2 separate regions of the Homo sapiens genome follow, and region 2 is linked to region 1. Evidence: promoter capture Hi-C in 16 types of primary human blood cells and fetal thymus (Javierre and others, 2016). All regions are on one chromosome and are shown on one strand. Each heading gives the region's core, a stretch centred on a gene start or on the middle of the fragment in contact. The rest is flanking DNA. Distances are from core to core; before and after follow the strand shown. Region 1 holds the start of PCDH9-AS1 (PCDH9 antisense RNA 1). Region 2 has its middle 210 kb from the start of LINC01052.

The links. The method cuts DNA at HindIII sites, captures the fragments that hold promoters and counts their contacts. A CHiCAGO score of 5 or more calls a contact.
Region 2: a contact is called between a fragment that was not itself captured here and the fragment with the promoter of PCDH9-AS1 in region 1, in 1 of 17 cell types (endothelial precursors). The highest score is 6.6, in endothelial precursors.

Annotation. Positions count from the first base shown.
Region 1 is chr13:66,301,444-66,307,355 of GRCh38, forward strand. It overlaps PCDH9-AS1 (PCDH9 antisense RNA 1), which reads left to right and starts at 2,428. Exons shown (of 2, transcript NR_046528.1): 1 at 2,428-2,571. It overlaps PCDH9 (protocadherin 9), which reads right to left. Exons shown (of 5, transcript NM_203487.3): 5 at 1,391-3,585. The coding sequence ends at 3,212. The HindIII fragment of the contact is 1,054 bases long and covers 2,354-3,407 here.
Region 2 is chr13:65,653,753-65,659,664 of GRCh38, forward strand. No RefSeq gene overlaps it. Among named protein-coding and RNA genes, the nearest start is that of LINC01052, 210 kb to the right of the region's middle. The HindIII fragment of the contact is 488 bases long and covers 2,887-3,374 here.

The sequences.
Region 1 (5,912 bases), core at 1,178-3,677:
AAATATATATTTATGTTAGAGTATGTGTAGAAATACTCATTCAAATAGGTCATATTCAGGTTTATAAAGTTAATTTCTGTATGTGCCTTCAAAGATTGTTAGTGTATAGCATCATAATATTTGATAATTTTTATAACAATCATCCTTTTATACATTTCATATAGGTATGCTCTCTTAGGTAATGTAAATAACTTTTATTTCCTGGTAAATGGTGACTCTTATGTCCAATGTCAACACCATAAAGCAATATAGATGATACTTAAGGAATGGTCATTGCAAATGTACTGTTTTATTTACTTGATGGGTAAATTCTTCAGTTTGGTTTGTGATGTTATTACTCTTAAAATTACCCAGAGCATATAACCAAATGTCTTCATAAGACTATATATTGTTGTATTTATTAGAAGAAATGTGGTAGGAATGGGAAAGGTGAATGCCTTTTTCAAACTTCCAGTTTATTCATGGAGAGAATATGAGATTAGTTTCTCTCTCTTTACTCTTCAAGGCAGAGGTGAATGACTTACCTGATTGGTGAAAAATAGAGAAAGGAACTGTGCAGGCATAGATTTTAATTTCTGTTTTTCAGAATGTCCTCTTTTCAGGATTCATTCCCTGTCTGTATCTTGGGGCAGTCTCTACTCCTGTGAGGGAAAAGAGGGTGGTGCTGCAGTGTACCTCAGACTAGAGGACAGGTCTAGCTTATTAGGAATGAATGGTTAGGATGTCATATCCGGACAATGGTCCAGGCAAATAACTTTAACACTATGCCTCTGACTCCCAAATCCTATTTCATAATCCTCCAAAAAGCTCTAGGGCTTGAAGAGTCAGGCTTACTTACCTAGCCCAAAACTCCAGCATGAGTGAACATTGATGCAGTTGCTCTAGGGTGAGCATACACACATGGCATATGTTTGAGTGTGTCTTCTTATCCTTGATAGCTTTCTGTGCCTATTTTCCTAAACTGAAAGAAATACAGATGAAGTTTGACTCTGGGTTTAAGGCCATAATCCCAGAATGATCTTCTGCCTTGGCCAATGAAAGTTTGTTCCATGAAATCTTATTAAAGAGACAAAGAATAAAAAAATAACCTTACTAACTAGTGCTACCAGCACAGTTTCTGACTTGGGATTTCACTGATGAAATTTGCATGAATCTTGACCAGAAAGTCAATGAACTTTCTCCATGAATTTCCCTAAAGAATAGTTTTGAAGACCATTAGGGTAATTGAACACTTATCTTGGTACTCACATTTTCAAAGGATAGGTATTAAACCCCAATGAATCTTCCTTAATTTCTAAATAAATGTTAAATTTTATCAACATATATTTACCCAACAATTAGAAGTATAAATAACCAATTTGGATGTTGACTAAGAATTAACACACTGCAATCAGGAATTCAGAACATTTATTGCAAGAGCTGAATAATTGTAAATAACGTAGAACTGGCAAAGCAGTAACAAGGATAATTGTTTAGATATTTATTCTGTCAAAGTCATCAAACACCCCTCACAAACCGACAAAAATGTACTTCAATAAGCAATGCACCCCTACCCATTATTTTCCATTATACTGTGGAAAAATGTGAACTGCTATTTACAAAGTAATTTTATTTTTTGGTAAGAACAAATTAACTATCAGATTAGCAAACCTTTTTTTTAAATTTTTTGTTTTTTTTTTGTTTTTTTTACTTTTAAATTGATGGTGAACCGTGGCATTAAGATAACTTCCACTTCTTTCAATAAAGACATTTTGTTGCATGCTATTTATTTGTTTAAATCATCTGTCATGCCTTAACAAAAACCTCCTAAGAATGTTCGAATTTGGATTTGTTTGCACGTGCAACTGAGATCTTATTAACATTAGTTGTCACTTTATTGGTTTGACCTAAGTGACAATATGCTGGTACCTGCCAGGCATTGACCAACTATGATAACAAACAGTTAAACAGCAATAATTAGAGATTTATCCCTTTATTTCCCCCAACTACCCTACCTGGAGAATGTTCTGTTACATCATGAAGGCACAACACATTAAATATTTTGTGGCTATGGTCTAATAACACTTGTGTTACAACAACATTATTGTATATGAGGATCAACACAGACTCTGCCATTTCAACAAAGTTGTAGACACACATTTGCCCAATTGAAACTATTTTTGAATAGTGATTTTTCTTCCATATATGCTAATTTTGATACATTAGTTTTACATGAGTGACAAGTACAGGATATTATATCACTTTTGATGGATAACAGTTTTCCATTACTCTCTCACTTAATGGTACTAATTAAGTGATTTTGCTTTTGCCTACTTTGAAAATAAGATGATAAAAAATAGGTTCTGAATTTCCAAGCTTTTGCAGAAGTCCTTTTTTGTATAAAGTTTTCATTTTTTCTTTCATCTTTATTGTTTACAGAATTCCGGCATCATAAGCTATCATATGAGAAGCAAGATTTCAGAACCTTTTTTAAACACAAGTGCTTGAGATTGTTTGAACAATGTGTGTCAAGACAGACTACTAACACAGAAACACCTCACTGAAAGAAACAACAAAAATAACAACAAAGAGGTAAATAAAAAGAAGGACAGAAGCAACCATAAAACACAGAATTATGCTACAACATTTTTAGGTGAACATTATAAGTACACAAAAGTTGTTAATAATAGCTTGCTTCTATTTACAAATACTTTAACACTGATTGACTTACAAGTGTCCACTAACGTTGTTAACAGCACAATAGGTTTAATGCTTATCTCTTTAAGTTTTGTTTGCAGTATAATGTCAAGTATAGCAGTCCCAGCACAAATCAATGACAAAAAAAAAAAAAAAAAAAAAAAAAAGCACAATTTTCTAACTGGATATGTTTTTCAGTCACTCTAATCCATGAAACTTTCTTACTTTCCAAATGCATATTCTATTGTTCATAGCAGCAGTCCAGGGTCAAAATAAAATGCAATAATAAAAAAAATTTGCACAATGGAGAGATCTCTGGAGAGTGTAATCAATTCTAGTAAACAAAATTGCATGGCTAGAACTATCTTCTCTCATATGTTGCAAAAACATTGTATTCTCCATGGTGCTAACACAAAGTTATAGGTATCCCTGCTAGAAGGGGCATAGTTGTAGAGATCTATTGAATACATAAAGCTCTGACGCACACGGTATTAGCATGTCTATTTAAAGTTATTAGGTCCCATATAGCCTTTTCTTAGAGTTGGTGCTCCTTAGGACTCTCAGTAGCACCTCCTGCTTGCTTATAAGACTTCAGATTTGCCAGAGGAATGTCTGTCATGTGGCTGCCATTGTTGAAATGGCCTTCATTGGAGCCATACTGCTTACGGTCATTGAACTGGTTCCTGTTGCTGTCTTCTTTCCAGGCTCTGGTCAGGGTGTGCCCATTCACAAGCTTGTCCTTCTTCACCCATTCTTTCTGGGGTGCAAAGGTTGAGAGAGGAGATTTGGGGTGTTGATATGGACCCAAGCCAGGAGGCATCCAGCAATTATCAGAGTGACCCAAAACCAAGCACTCTTGAGTGCACATCTCTGTAGCTTCAGCTAATCCTCGGGGACCCAAAGGCCCATCTGCAGAAGACAAGAGAGAGAAAATAAGAAAAGGAAGTGGTTAAAATTTTCAATTAGAATTATCTTAGAGAAAAAGTATGTTATTAGTGATCTTATTTTTTCATAAAAGTGTATCAAGTCAAGCAACTCAAAGATATATTTCTCCATCTTTTAAAGATTAACACAAAAGGCATCAAATTTGTTAGGGAGGTAAGATTGATCTATTAATATTTTCCTTCTTAATCCATTATTTAGTTATTTAGATCCAAAGACATAGATAGATAAAAAGACAGATATGGGTAAACAGGTATAACCATGATGTATACAGATATAACCATGATGCATACAGATTATTACTAATTTATATTCTAAGAAATCCCAGAAAAAAACTCATATTTATGATAAATTATAAAAAGTAGAACAATTTGTATGTGTAATATTAAAGAATATATAAATAATACAACTCCACTAAGTTAAAAAGCAAAATTACCACTTGAAACATAGCATCATTAAAAATAAATACTCTAAATGATTATATAAAATATTGTTTTTTTCTACATAAACACCTTATTTTTAAATGAAAATATTTTGTCACATTTTTGAAAAGTTAAATACTCATTTTAAAGAATAACTATTGTATCTTACTAACAACACACCTGGTCAGCTGCAAACATTCTGAAATCCAAGTAAAGAAGAAGCCATTTGAATCCAGACAGTGTTTAGTTCCCCTGAGCTTAACTATTTTCTAAATTTCTAAGGTATAAAACTGAAGCTAAATTGCAAATTAAATCACATGGAGTCTAACATTCAGGGGGAAGAAAGTGATCATAGAATTTATCTTCTACTTTTTTCACCAGCAGGCAATCTAGAACATACATTTTAACCAGGATTTCGAAAGTAAACTATTTTCTGACTGTTTAAAATAGAAATCAGCCCTTTACTAAAAAAACAACATAAGCCAAATGGTTAAGAAATAAATTGGGTTTCTTTGTTGCTGTTGTCTTACCCCCCTTGATTAAACAGCCACGTGATAGATAAATGATAGCTTGGAAATTAGGAATTGATTTTACAAATGAAGTTAAGTGGATACACAAGAATGCCTGAGGCATAAAGCATTTTCAAATGCAGAGAGTCATCAGAAAAAAAATGCAGAAAAAAGTAAACATACCTGCAAGTTTGCTTAGTCATCAATTTAAATCGCTCAATAATTGGAATGTAGGTCTTTGCTAAAACCAAAGTTAGCACAACTAATATTTTTAAACGTCCAATAATTGTGAGCTTTCTATTTGCCTTTATAATATTCTAATTATTTCTTGCATGAGAAAAAAAAATTCCCACCGAGACAGGAAACAGTTGATGGTAAAGACCAGAGACAGCAAACCACAGGCAACATCAAAATAGATACAGAATGTAGTTTTCCTGGGTACAATGTATACTGCTTGGGTGATGGGTGCACTAAAATCTCAGACCTCACCACTATACAATCATCCACGTAACCAAAAACCACTTGTACCCCAAAAACTATTGATATAAAAAAATTGTTTAAAAACAGAACAGATACTAGATGTGAAAAAAGGGGCTGAAATGCACTATTTCATATAAACTCAAAGTTTAGCGATTTTTTTTATATCTAAAAGTCTTCCTTTTAGAATATCCTTAAAATTACTTCCCATCTGAACCATATTCCCATCCCCTCAAGAGCAAACAGTTTTATTTTGTTTAAACACATATTCATTACTTAAAACTTTTCCTCTCACATACCTCCAATGATTACTCACTTTTTTGGATATTTAATTTAAACTTCTCTATGAGCCTTTCTTTGCCCTCTACAATCTGGCCACATTTTAAAAGTTCAAACTAATTTATCACTTTTAGGCTCCCTTAGGTGTACTCAGTGACTCTGCATTCACAAAGCTAACACATTTTGCTTAAACCAATCCACGCTCCCTGCATTAGGATCACAGGCTTAGAAGATGCTTTTTGCCGGGCCTGTTTTCATTTAATTACTGACCTCTTCAAGGGTCAGCTTATGTCCCACACACCAAAAGCAAGCTTCCATAACTCTACCAATTCATGCTTCATATGCACCTTGATTTCCACAGAGCTTTCTTTATTGATGAATAACAAATTTCCTAATTGAGCTCCCTCAACTCTTACCTTAATTCCATTTTTTGTTTTTTGGAGGGGGTTCCGTACATTTGCAAGTTTTAATTTTAATTTCCTCCCAACTAGATTGAAAATTGATGGAAAAAAAATGGCACATCGGTCTTCTGATTCTTCACAGTGCTAAACAATAGTGGTGATCTACGAACAATGTTAATTGTTAATTAAACTTTTATGAGGTTGAA
Region 2 (5,912 bases), core at 1,881-4,380, 650 kb before region 1:
CTGGTGTCAGAGGCTACCATCTGGTAGGTGGTTGTGTGTAGTAAATGAGTTTTAACAGGACCAATTGTGCTGGTTTCCTCCAGAGGGAAGAACCCCTAACTGAAAACTCAGTACAGCATTGCACTTTGCAGGAGAGTCTACCCTACCTATCTGCTATGTACTCAGTTGCCACCAGCTGTTTTATGCACTCTTAGCTCCCCAGCTGAGACAATTAAAGGAACGGGATTTGGCATTCTGTATAAATATGAGATATGACTCTGGAGCTGTTTTCACATTGGCAGAACATAGGGCAAAAAACAAGGCTTTGCTCCAGAATAGACTTTTTAATCTTATGGGCAATGATCAAGAAATGAAAAAGTCAGATGCTGAGATGATAATGAGGGGAAATATGAAAGCCTGGTTATCAGCAAAATATTGTAAATTAAATTAAGCATAGGGAAGTAGCAGCATCCTTCCCTATAAAACAGGCTAGCAGAGAAGATGCTAAATGTTTGGATGAGGACAGCAATCTGGGTATTTTGCATTGTGTGCTGCTTTTTCTGTACTCTGTATCTAGCTAAGCATGAGCCGTTGTAGCTACATATCACTTCTGCTTATGTAATCTATTGGAGTGTTGAGTCCGAAATCCTGTAAAATTAATAGCATGGGGGAAAGACATTTTTAAAATGATAAATGGGGTAAAGATGTGTTCTTTAATGGAGCTAGTGTTAGATTTTAAAATGTTACTTCCTAACTAAAGAAAAAAAATGTGGTTGGTGATGTTTTAGTTGCAATCATGTTATACAATGAAGTTTCCACCTTTATAATTTGTTTTCTGCATAGAAAATCTGTAGATAACACCAAGATACTAATTATTGTGCTCATTCATGTTGGCCTATGCTTTTTTCTTACTTAGCTTTAAATTTCCAATAATCAATATGCTATTTTTATAGGAAAATATTAAATAGAAATTAGAATTTTCTCTTTTTCATGTCACATAAAAACAGTGATTGAAAATGTTTTAAGAAGGCTTATAGGTTTGTTTCTAGAGCATAAATTGCATTAATATGTAGACAGTTCCAAAAGCTGTATTTTCTACGGGGACTTCCCGTTCAAACACTAGTCTCCTATCAATAATTACTTACTTGACGGCTCAACAAGAAAAACATCTCAAAACTGAAAAAGCCAAAACAGAAATATTGATTCTGCCATCACTTAAATTAAACCTCCACCTGTTTCTCAGTTTTGTAAAAGGCAGCGCTAGCATTAAAATGTTTAAGGAAACACTAGCAGCAACTGTCAAACCTAATTTAATTGTGCTGCCCTTGATACTTCACTTTTCTCAATCACACACTCCCAAACTTATTTAATCAGAAAATATATTTTAGTATGTTCAAACACATATGGACTCTGACCATGTCCTTACATATGTCCTATCATCCTAATAAAAGCCACCACCATCTCTCACAGGGTTTACCGTAATAAAGAAAAAAAGAAAGGAAGGAAGAAAAGAAGGAAGAAACGAAGATGAGAAGGAGGATGAGAGAAATGAAAGTCAAAACTCCTTACCCTCTTTATGAAAGCCTTATTTGATCTGGCCCCAACCATAGATCCCATCACACTTTTATCTTACCTTCCATGCTGATCCCAAATTGTAGCAGTAATTTTGAAATATGACAAACTCTTAGGAACTTAAGAGTCTGCAAAATAGGTATTCTGATTTCCTGGAATATACCTCTTCCTTTTTCTATGATTTCAAATTTCTGTTTAAATGTCATCTTTCTGCCTATGCAATCTAAAGAAATTTTAAAAATCACTATCTCAAAAGAAAATCACTACCACGTCACTTAATTCCCTACATAGTGCTTAGTGCTATCTCGCATATGACACACATACACATGCACCTGTATACATATATAATTTGTCTGTATCTCCATATTAACATATAAGCTCTTTAAGAGCACCACATCAAGTGCTTTAATTGCATTAAGTACAAATGAATCCTGGCCATGTAAAACAGTGACTGGTAAATAATATTCATTAAGTAATTACTTGTTTAATAAGCAAATGAATTGATAAGATTGAATATTAATTATTCTAATATTTTAGAATTTTATATAATTGGAGTAACCAGACTAATTCCATTAAATTTCACTTTAAGTTTCAACTCAAGCCAACCATATCTGGAAGAGATTCTTTTTTAAAGAATATTGGAAAAATGTACTCATTTAACAATATTTTACAACTTCTAGTACTGATGAATTATTTTAAACATACTTTATTGCATTCACTGAAAATAAGGTAGCCAAATTACATTCTCATAAATACAATGTATCAAAATATTTAAATATTTGCTTGAATATCCATATTATTAGCTTCTTACAACCAAAGTTGGTTTCAAAATCCCTTTTGCTTTAATATTTTCTTCTGGCTAACATTCATCAAGTGTTCTTATACATTGTACTAGCACATATTTTGCATTTATCAGAGTTCTATGTTTTTTCCTAAATAGATTTGCAGGGCTAGAAACAACTAGAGATTAAATAGCAACGTGAAGGTATTGTAGAATAAAATGAAAAGTGGCCACCCACAATCAGAATTGATAAATTTAAATTATGTCACCTAAATGCAAACTACTAGTAAATATGCTAGTGTATCACAAACAGAAATTAATTCAAATACGTTCTTCTAGAAGATACTTGGCAAACATTGGATGTGATTTTCCTATGACTACCTGTCTTCATAAACTAAGTGTAAGTTTGAATTCTCTGCTCTCTATATGGCTTAGCTTTTTCTATCAGGGCAATGCCAATGACATGTATTTCATGATATAAAGATGATGAACATTATGAGTTATTTTATATAGTGCTCTCAATCTTTATTGATATAAAAACACATTAGTTCTAAAGCTTATCCGCAACTCAGGGCAATTAAGTGGATCTTCCTACAGTTTTAAATGAAGTATTTCTGGCAATTAGCAGATAGAAAATGATTTTTTTAAGACGCAGTGACAGCAGTAGAGGACAAATCCCTTAATGCTATGAGAAAGCAACAGTGTGCATGTAGTAATTTTTTAAATGGCATTAATACTGTTAATCATTTTGACCTATCTTCATTGACCTTCATAGTTATACTATCTAAAATTGTTATCCAATTGTTAAATTTTGTTGCTGTGAATTGCTCAAAAAGTAAGCTAGATGGTGCTAGAGAACACCATTCCATTTACTATGTGATAATATTTATAACCTATTTCTTGTTGATAAGAATGACTGAAAATGTTGAGACCCATTACATTAATCTGAAATTTAGTATCACACTATAAATTTAACATAAAGGATTTATAAAGATATCAAACTCAATAAAGGTACAAGATTAAGAGGAAGTATATATTCATAAGCTTATACTAAAGTATAAGATATCACAATCCCAAAATTATAGAAAGTCTATAATAAATTTTTATGGCAAATAATTACTATTATTTTAATAAATCTACGGCACATGCATATTTTTATCCTTTTGGGATAACTTTTTTTTCTTGCAGATGTTAAAAACTGGGTGATATGGTTTAAATTGCTAAACTACAACTGAGTTATGCCAAATATCTATTTAGATCTTATCTAGAGCTCATCTTAATATTGCTATTAACATCACTTACACTCATTTCTTAAGGAAAACTAATGTTCGAATTAAAAATAACATTTTTTTAAACAAAAGGAGTCCCTTTTGGTTTAAATCAGATTTGTGTAAATAAACTAATCAATTCAAAGTTTATATGCAGAGTTATGCCTATCAAACTTTTTCCCTTACATATTTTATATATCATTTATAATGTCATTAAATTTTCTTTCATTATCTAATAAGAAAATTTCCAAAATATGGTGCAAAGAAAATTTAGAAAGATTTTTAGAGGTTGGTGTATTAGTTTACCAGGGCTGCCATACAAAATACCACAGACTGGATGCCTGAAGCAACAGATATTAATTTTTCCACTTTTCCGAAGGCTAGAAATCCAAGATCAAAGTATTGCCAGGATTGGTTTCTAGGGAGACCACACTTTTTGGCTTGTAGATATCTTCTCATTGTGTCCCTCTGTGGCCTTTTTCTCTGATGACACAGAGAGCTCTCTGGAGTCTCATCCATGTCTTATAAAGACACCCATCCTGTGGGATTAGGATCCCACTCACATGACCTCATTTAACCTCCTTAAAGGTTCTATCTCCATATGCAGTTAAATTAGCTGTTAGAGGTTCAATATATGAATTCTGGCAAGACACAGTTCAGACGAAAATGGATGCTTTTGAGTCATCCTTGAGTCCTGATGTTAGGACTGATGTTTAATCTCTTCTGATTGAGCTCTTACTTACTCAGGTTCAACTGGTCTCTACCAGTCAACACGGATTTCCAGCAAAATTTCTTCTCTGGAGGGTCATGGACTGTACACAGCTTCCTTTCTCGTGTTCTTCCTGTACTACTTTCTGATCTTAATGACAGGCCTATTAGGACCTACCCATTTTGTTAGCATGTTGCTGTCCTTGCAGAACTGAGAAAACCTGTCTCTGTGACGGTGCTCTTAATTCTTTCTTTCCAATTATAATTTCTCATCTACTTCTAATCCAAGGCATGGGATACCCTGTAGTTCAGATGCCATGAGTAATGTGGGCACAAGGAACTTTCCAAACTACATCTTGAGAAACATGAGGAAAGCTACATTGCATGAGAAGTTTCCCAAACCTAATGAGTGATCCAATTGCCCTTTAATCTGAATTATGATACTACAGTGAAGAGAACCAACATAATTTTTACTGACCTTTTGTCTCTATTCTCACTCCTTGCTTCTTTCCTTTTCCTACATAAACTTAAGGGCATTATATTTCCTCTTCAAATGTTGGCTGTTTCTTTAGTCATTATCTCTTTCTTGCCTGTGCTATTGTTTATTTGAAACCATATTCCCTTTTCCCAGACACTGAGACTCATCTGCTCATCTTTATTGGAGAATATATCTGGTAAAAAATAAGGGTTGTCAAGAAGGTAAGTACACTGTGGTGTAGATGGTGGATTCAAAACATATTATGTTGAGTATCAATCTTAAAGTATAGTATAGCAGACAATTACTACTAAACGTTTGCTTTATTTTTTCATTAAGTTTAAGCCCTATTCAATTTTAATTGAATACATTATGCTAAATTTTCTCATAATACTCTTATCCTACTATTTTTATGTTTTTTTATAATATCTGGTCTTACCAAATTTCTCACTGCCTAGATTAACATTTTTAGAGGATAAAAACTAAGTAGATCCTGCACACTTATTCTTGCATTATTAAATTTTTCTTTTGAAATAATTATAGGTTCATAGGAAGTTTTAAAAATGTACAGGGAGGCGTTTTCTACCCTTCACCCAGTGTCCCGCAGTGGTACCACATTGAATAATTACAGATAATGCCAAAACAAGAGAATTGATATTGGTTCCACAGAGCTTATTTACATTTAATCAGTTTTTACATATATTACTATGCATAGGTAGTGCAATGCAACTTTTTACATGCATAGATGTATGCATTCACCACCACAATTGAAGATAAAGGACTGTTCCATTACCTCAGGGATCTCTTGTGCTATACCTTTATGGCCAAACTCACCCTTCTCTTAAGAGAGGTCCCAATCTCTTAACTCCTGGCAACTACTAATTTGTTATTCATGTCTACAATTGCAGTATTAGAAGAACATATATAAATTTAATTACATAATATGTAACTGTTTGTGATTTTCTTTTTTCAATAAGTATAATTCTCTGGAGATCCACTCAAGTGATGAAATGCATCAATAGTGTGTTCCTTTTTATTGTTGAGTAGTATTCATTGGTCTGTATGTGGAGTTTGTTTAACCTTTGGCCATTTAAGGACATCTAGGTTGTTTTAAAGTTTTGGCAATTAT